3 separate regions of the Homo sapiens genome follow, and all the other regions are linked to region 1. Evidence: promoter capture Hi-C in human tissues and cell types (Jung and others, 2019). All regions are on one chromosome and are shown on one strand. The core of a region is centred on a gene start or on the middle of the fragment in contact, and the rest is flanking DNA. Distances in the headings are between cores, read along the strand shown.

Evidence for each region. The method cuts DNA at HindIII sites, captures the fragments that hold promoters and counts their contacts. A contact is called where the count stands out against the background at its distance.
Region 2: a fragment that was not itself captured here is called in contact with the fragment with the promoter of ABHD6 in region 1 in 4 of the 25 tissues and cell types used here (dorsolateral prefrontal cortex, hippocampus, ovary and 1 more).
Region 3: a fragment that was not itself captured here is called in contact with the fragment with the promoter of ABHD6 in region 1 in 1 of the 25 tissues and cell types used here (liver).

The regions. Positions count from the first base shown.
Region 1 is chr3:58,236,422-58,239,149 of GRCh38, forward strand. ABHD6 (abhydrolase domain containing 6, acylglycerol lipase) reads left to right here and starts at 1,371. Exons shown (of 10, transcript NM_001320126.2): 1 at 1,371-1,495. RefSeq lists an enhancer at 782-1,721 and silencers at 943-1,112, 1,123-1,612. The HindIII fragment of the contact is 20,801 bases long and covers 1-2,728 here.
Region 2 is chr3:58,286,893-58,289,622 of GRCh38, forward strand. All of the region lies in intron 9 of ABHD6 (abhydrolase domain containing 6, acylglycerol lipase), which reads left to right. Among named protein-coding and RNA genes, the nearest start is that of RPP14, 18 kb to the right of the region's middle. The HindIII fragment of the contact is 4,978 bases long and covers 1-2,730 here.
Region 3 is chr3:58,183,186-58,185,885 of GRCh38, forward strand. LOC124909386 (a long non-coding RNA gene) reads left to right here. Exons shown (of 2, transcript XR_007095929.1): 1 at 1-2,700. Among named protein-coding and RNA genes, the nearest start is that of FLNB-AS1, 14 kb to the left of the region's middle. The HindIII fragment of the contact is 6,139 bases long and covers 1-2,700 here.

The sequences.
Region 1 (2,728 bases), core at 121-2,620:
TGCCACTTCTCCGGGACTTCTTGACTGTGTCCTATTCTTAAAACCCAGGACCTGCACCACTCAGCCAGGCTCCACCAGCGTGGAGGCCTTGGCAGGCTGAGGCCCAAAGGCTGCCTTTGTGGGGGATTTAAACGGCCAAGAGAGTCTTGCTGAGCCCTGGCCCCTTGACGTCTGGAGTGGCAGGCCAAGCACTCAGTGCAGCAGGAAGATCTGGGTGCCACTAAGGCCCCTAACAGGTGTAGTAAATATCTGTTAAATGAACGAATACATGTTTTGATGAAAGAAGCCCACAGTGCAGTGTGAGCCCAAAGGGGTCTTACTGAAGGCTTCCTGGAGGAAGTGGCAGCTAAACTGAGACATGGAAAACACGGAAGAGTAGCCAGGCCAAGCTGGGGTTTAACTGTCCCTAAAAGAAAGAAACGACCATAGCAGGGGTTTAACCAGAGGTGGCCGAAGGCCTTTCCAGGTGCCCATTTCTCCCGTATAGCTTTGGAGTCAGACGATCCTCGGTTGGAATTCCCAGTTCAGTCCTTACAGTCTGACGTCCCGCACAACCCGACGCCGGCAACTGTCTCCAAACACCCGAGAGCCAGGGCGGGAGCATGAGCGCCTACGGTGTTCCTTGGGGTGGAGCCCTCGCAGTGTCCAGAGGATTTGGGGGCTCCTGCGCCCCCATTTCTCCCATTTCCTGGACTATCCAGGGCAAGCCCCTCACCTCCCTGAGCCTCGGTGTCTTCTGAGAAAAGAAGTCGACCCCAGTGCCTACCTCATAGGATTACGTGAGACAACCGATGTCAAGCAGTGTTGCTTTGCTGCCTGAGAACCCCTGCCTGTCCCTTTCTCTCTGATGCCCTTCGGGGCAGAGATCCAGAGATCCTGCCTGAGTCACTTTGGCGGGTTTAATGCCCAGCCGCGCCAGGCACACAGTAGGTGCTCAGTAAGTGAAACAGTGCCGGGAAGAATTCGGGCCGGGGATGTGGAACTGTGTGTGGCTCTGCGGGCTCAGAGGCCCTCCCCGCGCCCCGCCACCGTGTGCGTTCCGGGGCGGGGCGGGGCGGGGGCGGGGGCGGGGGCGGGGGCGGGACCGGGCGCTCGGGCTCCGCCCCCGGTACCTCTGTAGGCGATCCTGCTCTCGCCGTGGCTTTCGGGTGCTAGGAGACAGTTGCCGGCGTTGGGTTGTGCGAGACGCTAACTGTACCCTCCGGGTTTAACGCTGTGAGGCAGCGCGCGGAGGAACTGGGGATAAGCGCCCCGGAGCCCCCAAACAGAGCGCGGCCGCTGGGGGACAGCGCGCGGCGCCGGGTCGGGGCGGGGCGGCTTTTCTGTCGGAGGACGCGAACCGGCACGCTGCGCCTTTAAGGAGTCCAGCTGGGCTGGGCGCCGGAGCTGGGAGCGGCGCGGGTAGGAGCCCGGCGGCAGGTCCCAGCCCGGGGCTAGAGACCGAGGGCCGGGGTCCGGGCCCGGCGGCGGGACCCAGGCGGTTGAGGCTGGTCAGGTGAGCGGAGGCGGGCGGGCGGGCGGTGGTGCGCTCCTAGGGGGATGGGGCGCCCTGATGGCCCCGTGACCTCTCCCCCAGTGTCTCCCTGCAGCGGCGCATCGAGTGGAAAGAGTCGGCGATCTGCACTTGCCTTTCCACTCCGCTCCCCGCGCGGGCGCTGCCCCCACCTCCCGCTGCCTGGATAGGTTTGAGATGCCCGAAACCCGGCGCCCCATTTCCTGGGTCCAGCCAGCCTCTTGAAGCCGGGGGACAGAGTGAGGACGGGTCGGGACCTGCACCCTCTTTCTACTTCGCCTCCCCACCCCCTGCGCCCGCAGCAGCCCTTAGGCGCCCCTCGCAGTGCCGAGAGGATTTTGGGGTCCTGCAGCCCTGTTTCCCCCATTTCCTGGAGAAGGACTGCAGCTCGCCCACCCAGATAGCATCTTGCTCCGTGTCACGCGCCGCCTCCGCGCCGTCCCCAAGATCTCGCTCCGCTACTCCCCTCCCCCAGCAGCCTTTCAGCTTCCCTTTCCCCAGCCTGCCCCGGCTCCCGTGCCCTTGCGCCCCTTCCGTGTCGAAACACTTGAATCAGGATGCTGTCCAGCCAGGTACCCGCCGGCAACTTGCGGTCCCCCGCCTACAGCGACACAGGTTTCACGGCTGCCTTAGAAATGCGGATTGTGTAACGCCGGCTGCAGGGCAGTGCACGTGCAGGGTTTGCGCCCCTGAGCCCACAGCGAGGCCAGGTGACAGAGTGAGGCATGGGGGAGTGGGGGAAGAGGAGGATGCCAGAGGGTCTAGATACTGTGCATGCAGAGAATATGTATTTTGAGCCCTTTGTATGCCCCAGGAGCTGGGTGGTTAGGAAGAGGAAATAAAGTGGGGGTCTTACTCCAGCTGGGACCTGGAGGCCCTCATTTATCTCGCCGCCCCCCTCCCCGCTGCTCCCGCCTGCTCAGAAATCCCTAGTGGCTCCACCTGGCTAAGAGTTTAAAGTAGTTTATAATGAATAATAGCTGACATAGAATAAGCAAATCTTGTGTGCCAGGCCCTGTCCTAAGCCCCTTAAAAGAATTACCTGCCATACTTTCCCCAACAGCCCCTTGAGGTAGGTACCACCGCTGTGCCCATTCCTGAGAGCAGGAATATGAGGCTTCCAGAGGTGGTACCTTCCCAAGACACGAAGTGAGTCTGGCCTCAGAACCACCCCCTTCCCCCAACCGCCCCCCCAACCCGACCTCGAACCACTAG
Region 2 (2,730 bases), core at 185-2,684, 51 kb after region 1:
TCTTGGAAATCATTTTATATCAGCCCAAACAAATCTATTCCTTCTATTCTTAAAAAAATTTTATCTTGAAATAATTTCAAACTTACAGAAAATTTGAAAGAAGGCCAGGCATGGTGGCTTACGCCTATAATGCCAGCACTTTGGGAGGCTAAGGCAGGAGGATTGCTTGAGCCCAGGAGTTTGAGACCAACCTGGGCAGCATAGTGAGATCCCATCTCTATAAAAAATAAATTTTTAAAAAAGTAGCCAAGCATGGTGGTATGCATCTGTAGTCCCAGCTACTCTGGAGGGTGAGGCAGGAGGATCACTTGAGTCCAGGACATGGAGGTGGCAGTGAGCCGTGATTGCTTCACTGCACACCAGCCTGGGCCACAGGGCGGGATCCTATCTCAAAAAAATAAAAATAAAAAAGAATACAGAGTATACCTGCATACCCTTTACCTAAATGCATCAATTTTTAACTGGCAGGAGGTCACACTGTGGCCACAAAGACCCACAAGTGCATGAATGACCCAGGCAGGAGAGAGTGGGGAGGAGCAGCCAGGCTGTGCCCATGGCGTGTACGCAGAATAAGAGGCAATGGTGTCTTAGATGAGCCAGGCATGGTGAGGATTCACAGCATGGTTTTGTGGACGTGGAGAGAAGGGGATCTCATGTGCTCTCTTCTGCAGCGCCAAGGGACTGAAAGAAGCTTTGTTTGTGCCCTGGGCTATGCCAGCAGAGAGTCATTTGATCAGGAATCAGAGCCTGAGCAGCGAAGGCCTTCTGTTGTTCTAAAAACCCCAAAGGTGATTTGGGGCTCTCAGGAGCCAACAGGGAGAGGCTGTAACCCATCTTCCTGTGGAGACAGCGCAGAAGCAAGGGCACTGGCCTTGGATTCTGAAAGTCTATGTTCCAGCCCTACTTTTGTCCTTGGTCAGCCCATGCATGACCTTGAGCAAGTAACTCAGCCCCTCTAAATTAAGGGTTTCTGAAACTTCTAGTACCAGGGTTATTTTGAGGCTCAAATGAAATAATATGTATGAAAATGATCTTCCAGTTGCAAAAAAGTTAGGTTAGCTGGTATTAGATTAGACTGCTCATGTCCTTTGCCTCTGTTGGTGGCTTCAATGCATGGTCCAAATTTTTTTCCCAGACTCAGAAGTCCGTTTCATTCCAGAAAAAGAGCCTAACATTCTATGGGCTTGCTATAAATGTGATCAGATCCTTCATGTGTTTTGTGGACTGTCCCTGGGACAGAGGCCAAATAGCAGAGGCTTCAGGGAGTCTTTTATTTCACAGCCTTTTGCCTCCCAAGCTCGCTGGCTCTTTTCCTGCTCTGTCATCAACATTTGGTGTCACAGCACCTGCCCCTACCAGGCCAAATTCAGCTTCCTTCTTCTTTGGACCCCTGTAGGCTGACTGCTATACTGCACAGCTGCAGGGGGAGCCATGTGCATTGTCATTTTTGTGAATGATGGATTTGGTCTGTATACAACCTGTACACCCAAACATGGCAGCCCTTCCTGAGAGGGTTTCTGCATGCTTCATTTCAAGCATCGCTCCTCTATGTTCAGTCCATCAAAATGGGAGGGCCATCTAGAGACAGACAGGCTATTATTCTTTATGTCCCTTCTCCCTGCCAGCACCGTGCCTGGTATGCAGGAGACCCAGAGTACACAGTGAGTGAGCAAACAAGTGAGAAATTGAGTGAACAAACCAACTAGTGAAGGGATAAACCCACTGACTGACTACACATTTAAGCCAGTTAACAGGCATTTATTGAGCACCTAGTATGTGCCTAACACTGTATTAGGCCCTGAGGATACAGTAGGGACCAAGACAGCCAGGATCCCTGCCCTCCAGCAATTTATCGTCTACCTACCCTTATAGTGCATAACAGGCCCGAGACAAGGGTGAGATGAGAGAGATGTGTCATGCAGGTGCAGGGTCAGATCCTGTCTGTATTTATGATTTTGATATTTTGTTCATCATGTGCCTTTTTCCATTAATGTTTTTTTTAACATACTGCACTAAAATATTTTCTCTTAATTTATGAGTTTTTTGGCACTTAAATTTTGTGCCTTAGGCAAATGCCTCATTTGCCTCACCATAGTTTTAGCCCTGGTGTGAAGCAATGCAGGAAAAGGTTTTGATTTTTGTTTTTTGTTGGGCAGGGGGGTTGTTTGTTTGTTTGTTCTGAGACTGGTTCTTGCTCTGTCACCCAGGCTAGAATGCAGTGGCTCAATCATAGCTCACTGCAGCCTCAACCTCCTGAGCTCAAGCAATGCTCCCACCTCAGCCTCCCAGGCAGCTGGGACTACAGGCATGTGCCACCACACCCGGGTAATTTTTTATTTTTTTTATTTTTTTATTTTTTTTATTGATCATTCTTGGGTGTTTCTCACAGAGGGGGATTTGGCAGGGTCATAGGACAATAGTGGAGGGAAGGTCACCAGATAAACAAGTGAACAAAGGTCTCTGGTTTTCCTAGGCAGAGGACCCTGAGGCCTTCCGCAGTGTTTGTGTCCCTGGGTACTTGAGATTAGGGAGTGGTGATGACTCTTAACGAGCATGCTGCCTTCAGGCATCTGTTTAACAAAGCACATCTTGCACTGCCCTTAATCCATTTAACCCTGAGTGGACACAGCACATGTTTCAGAGAGCACAGGGTTGCGGGGTAAGGTCACAGATCAACAGGATCCCAAGGCAGAAGAATCTTTCTTAGTACAGAACAAAATGAAAAGTCTC
Region 3 (2,700 bases), core at 182-2,681, 53 kb before region 1:
TTGACCACTTCCCTTTCCCCACCACAGTTACAAACAGGGGCAGTGACATTCCAGTGGCTGCAAAAAGACACAGGGAAGAGGGGTTAAAGGCATAATCTGGACCCCAGCTAGGTCAGCCAAAAATGCCCTTTTACACATGTAAAGCACAGTCTAGGGCCTGGCATGAAGTAAGTGTTCAAACAAATGGTAGCTGGTATTATTAGCACTGTAGTTGGTGGTGGTGGTGACTCAACAGGCAGGATTTGCAGCCTATGGGCATGTGGGGAGCTAGTTCAGCCTTGAGTAGCCCCCACGTGCCTCCTGTGGAGCACTGGTATGGGTGGGGTATCCAGGGACAACAGGAGAAATGGGATGTGGGGTAAGTGAGCTTGGGGTGGGGTAGAGTCAGAATAGTTAATTGGAATTGCCCCCCTATCAGGACAGATCCTGGTGGTGCTGCCAAGGTGGGGTGTCAAGGTCTCCGTGCGATGTCAGGCATTACCCTTTGGTTATGAGGTCATAGGAGGGTCTGAGGGTCCTAAGGTAGGAAGGCATGGCTGGTCCTAGGTGGTACAGAAATGTTGCACTTTTTTAACAACTGAAGCAGCTATAGTAGTGTGTCCCTGCTGGCCCTCGGCCCTGTGGGTTGGGGAAATGTGGCAGGAGGAAGGTGACCCTCACTCTCCCCAGCCTCTGCTGTGTTGCAGGGGACGCTATGAAGCACATCAAGGTTCCAACTTATGCCAAGGTCCAGTCCATCACAAAGGTGTTTTACACCCAAAGTGGCATCTGCCATTTCCCACGGCAAACAGACCAGCTCACGTGAGTCCACATGGGGAAAGGTCCCCAGAGCTGCTCCTATCCTATGCCTATGGCCCATCTGGACCCTCCGGCCAGACTCACCCTTGCTCTGCAGCTGTCGAGCCCCCGCCGCCTTGCTGTGCATGGGTAGGCATGAGAGTGACTAAGGCGGGGTCTGGACCAATCGGTGGCCCTCCCTCCCGGCTGTCTGCCTCCAAGGACCTCAGCTCCTTGTAGGGCTGCCTCCGCCCCTGCCGTCATTGGCAAGGCGTGGACATGGGGGCTGCTTTCCTGGGGGGAAACAGTGGGGTTTCCAAGTGCTCCCTCAGCAGACCCGGCGCAGGAGAGGGCTCGCTAAATCCTTAAGGTGCTAAAGGGAGAGAATATCTCCCTGCTTTTTATTTCTCTACATTCTGTTGAAGGGATCCATAGCTGGGTTGCTTAGTGCCAATTTACCCCATAGTTTAGGGAAGAAGTAGTTTACGTTTTTGCTTACCGCTTCTCTCATCCCTCAGAACCTGTGTTAGTCAGGGTTGCCTCACTGCTAAAACAAACAGCCCCTAAGTCCCAGTTGCTTAAACCAATAAAGACGTCTTTCCTACATGGCCGTCCAATCTGATGTTGGGCAGGTGACCTTCCACCTGCTGATCCGGGGACCCAGGCTTCTCCCACCTGGTAGCTCTGCCATCCCCTAGGGCCTCACAGCCCTCCTCTGAGTCCTCTACATCCAGCCAGGGAAAGGGGAGAGAGACTGAGCATGGAGAGAATACACCTGCTCTGAACCGCCTTGGCCTGGAGCTAAGCGGTGTCACTTCCTCTCCCATTCCACTGGTGAGAACAAGTCACATGACTCCTAGATGTGAGAGGGCTGGGTTGATTCATGGAGCCATGCGCTCAGCAGGAAGAGGAGGAAGGGTACCACAGTGGCCTACATGTCTTGTGCAGCCACCATGCTAAATTCGAAGCTCCTTCCGGTATCAGTTTCTTAGGGTTGCCATAATAAAGTACCCCAAACTCAGTGGCTTAACACAACAGAAATTGGCGATCTCACATTTTTGGAGGCTGGAAGTCAGATCAAGCTGTGGGCAGGGTCAAGCTTTCTCTGAAACCTATAGGGACAAACACTTTCTTGCCCTTCCTGGCTTCTGGTGGCCACCAGCATCCTTGGCCTTCCTCAGCTTCCAGCTGCAGCACTCCAGGCTCTGCGTTCCTCGTCACGTGGCTGTCTACCTGTGTGTCACTCTGGCTTCCCATGACTGTCTCCTTAGAAGGGCATCAATCGTATTGGATTAGGGGCCCACGCCTCCAGTATGTCCTCATCTTAACGAATTACATTTGCAGTGGTCCTATTGCCAAATGAGGTGGCACTGGCAGTTAGAACTTGGAAAAAAAAAAACTTAAATATTTTTGGGCCAGGCGCAGTGGCTCACGCCTGTAATCCCAGCACTTTGGGAGGCCGACGTGGGCAGATCACCTGAAGTCAGGAGTTGGAGACCATCCTGGCCAACATGGTGAAACCCTGTCTCTACTAAAAATACAAAAATTAGCCGGGCGTGATGGCGGGTGCCTGTAATCCCAGCTACTCGGGAGGCTGAGGCAGGAGAATCGCTTGAACCTGGGAGGCTGAGGCAGGAGAATCGCTTGAACCTGGGAGGCTGAGGCAGGAGAATCGCTTGAACCTGGGAGGCTGAGGCAGGAGAATCGCTTGAACCTGGGAGGCTGAGGCAGGAGAATCGCTTGAACCTGGGAAGCTGAGGCAGGCGAATCGCTTGAACCTGGGAGGCTGAGGCAGGAGAATCGCTTGAACCTGGGAGGCAGAGGTTATGGTGAGCCGAGATCGCACCGCTGCACTTCAGCCTGGGTGACAGAGCAAGACTCTGTCTCAAAAATAAATAAATAAATAGTCTTTTGGGAGGAACA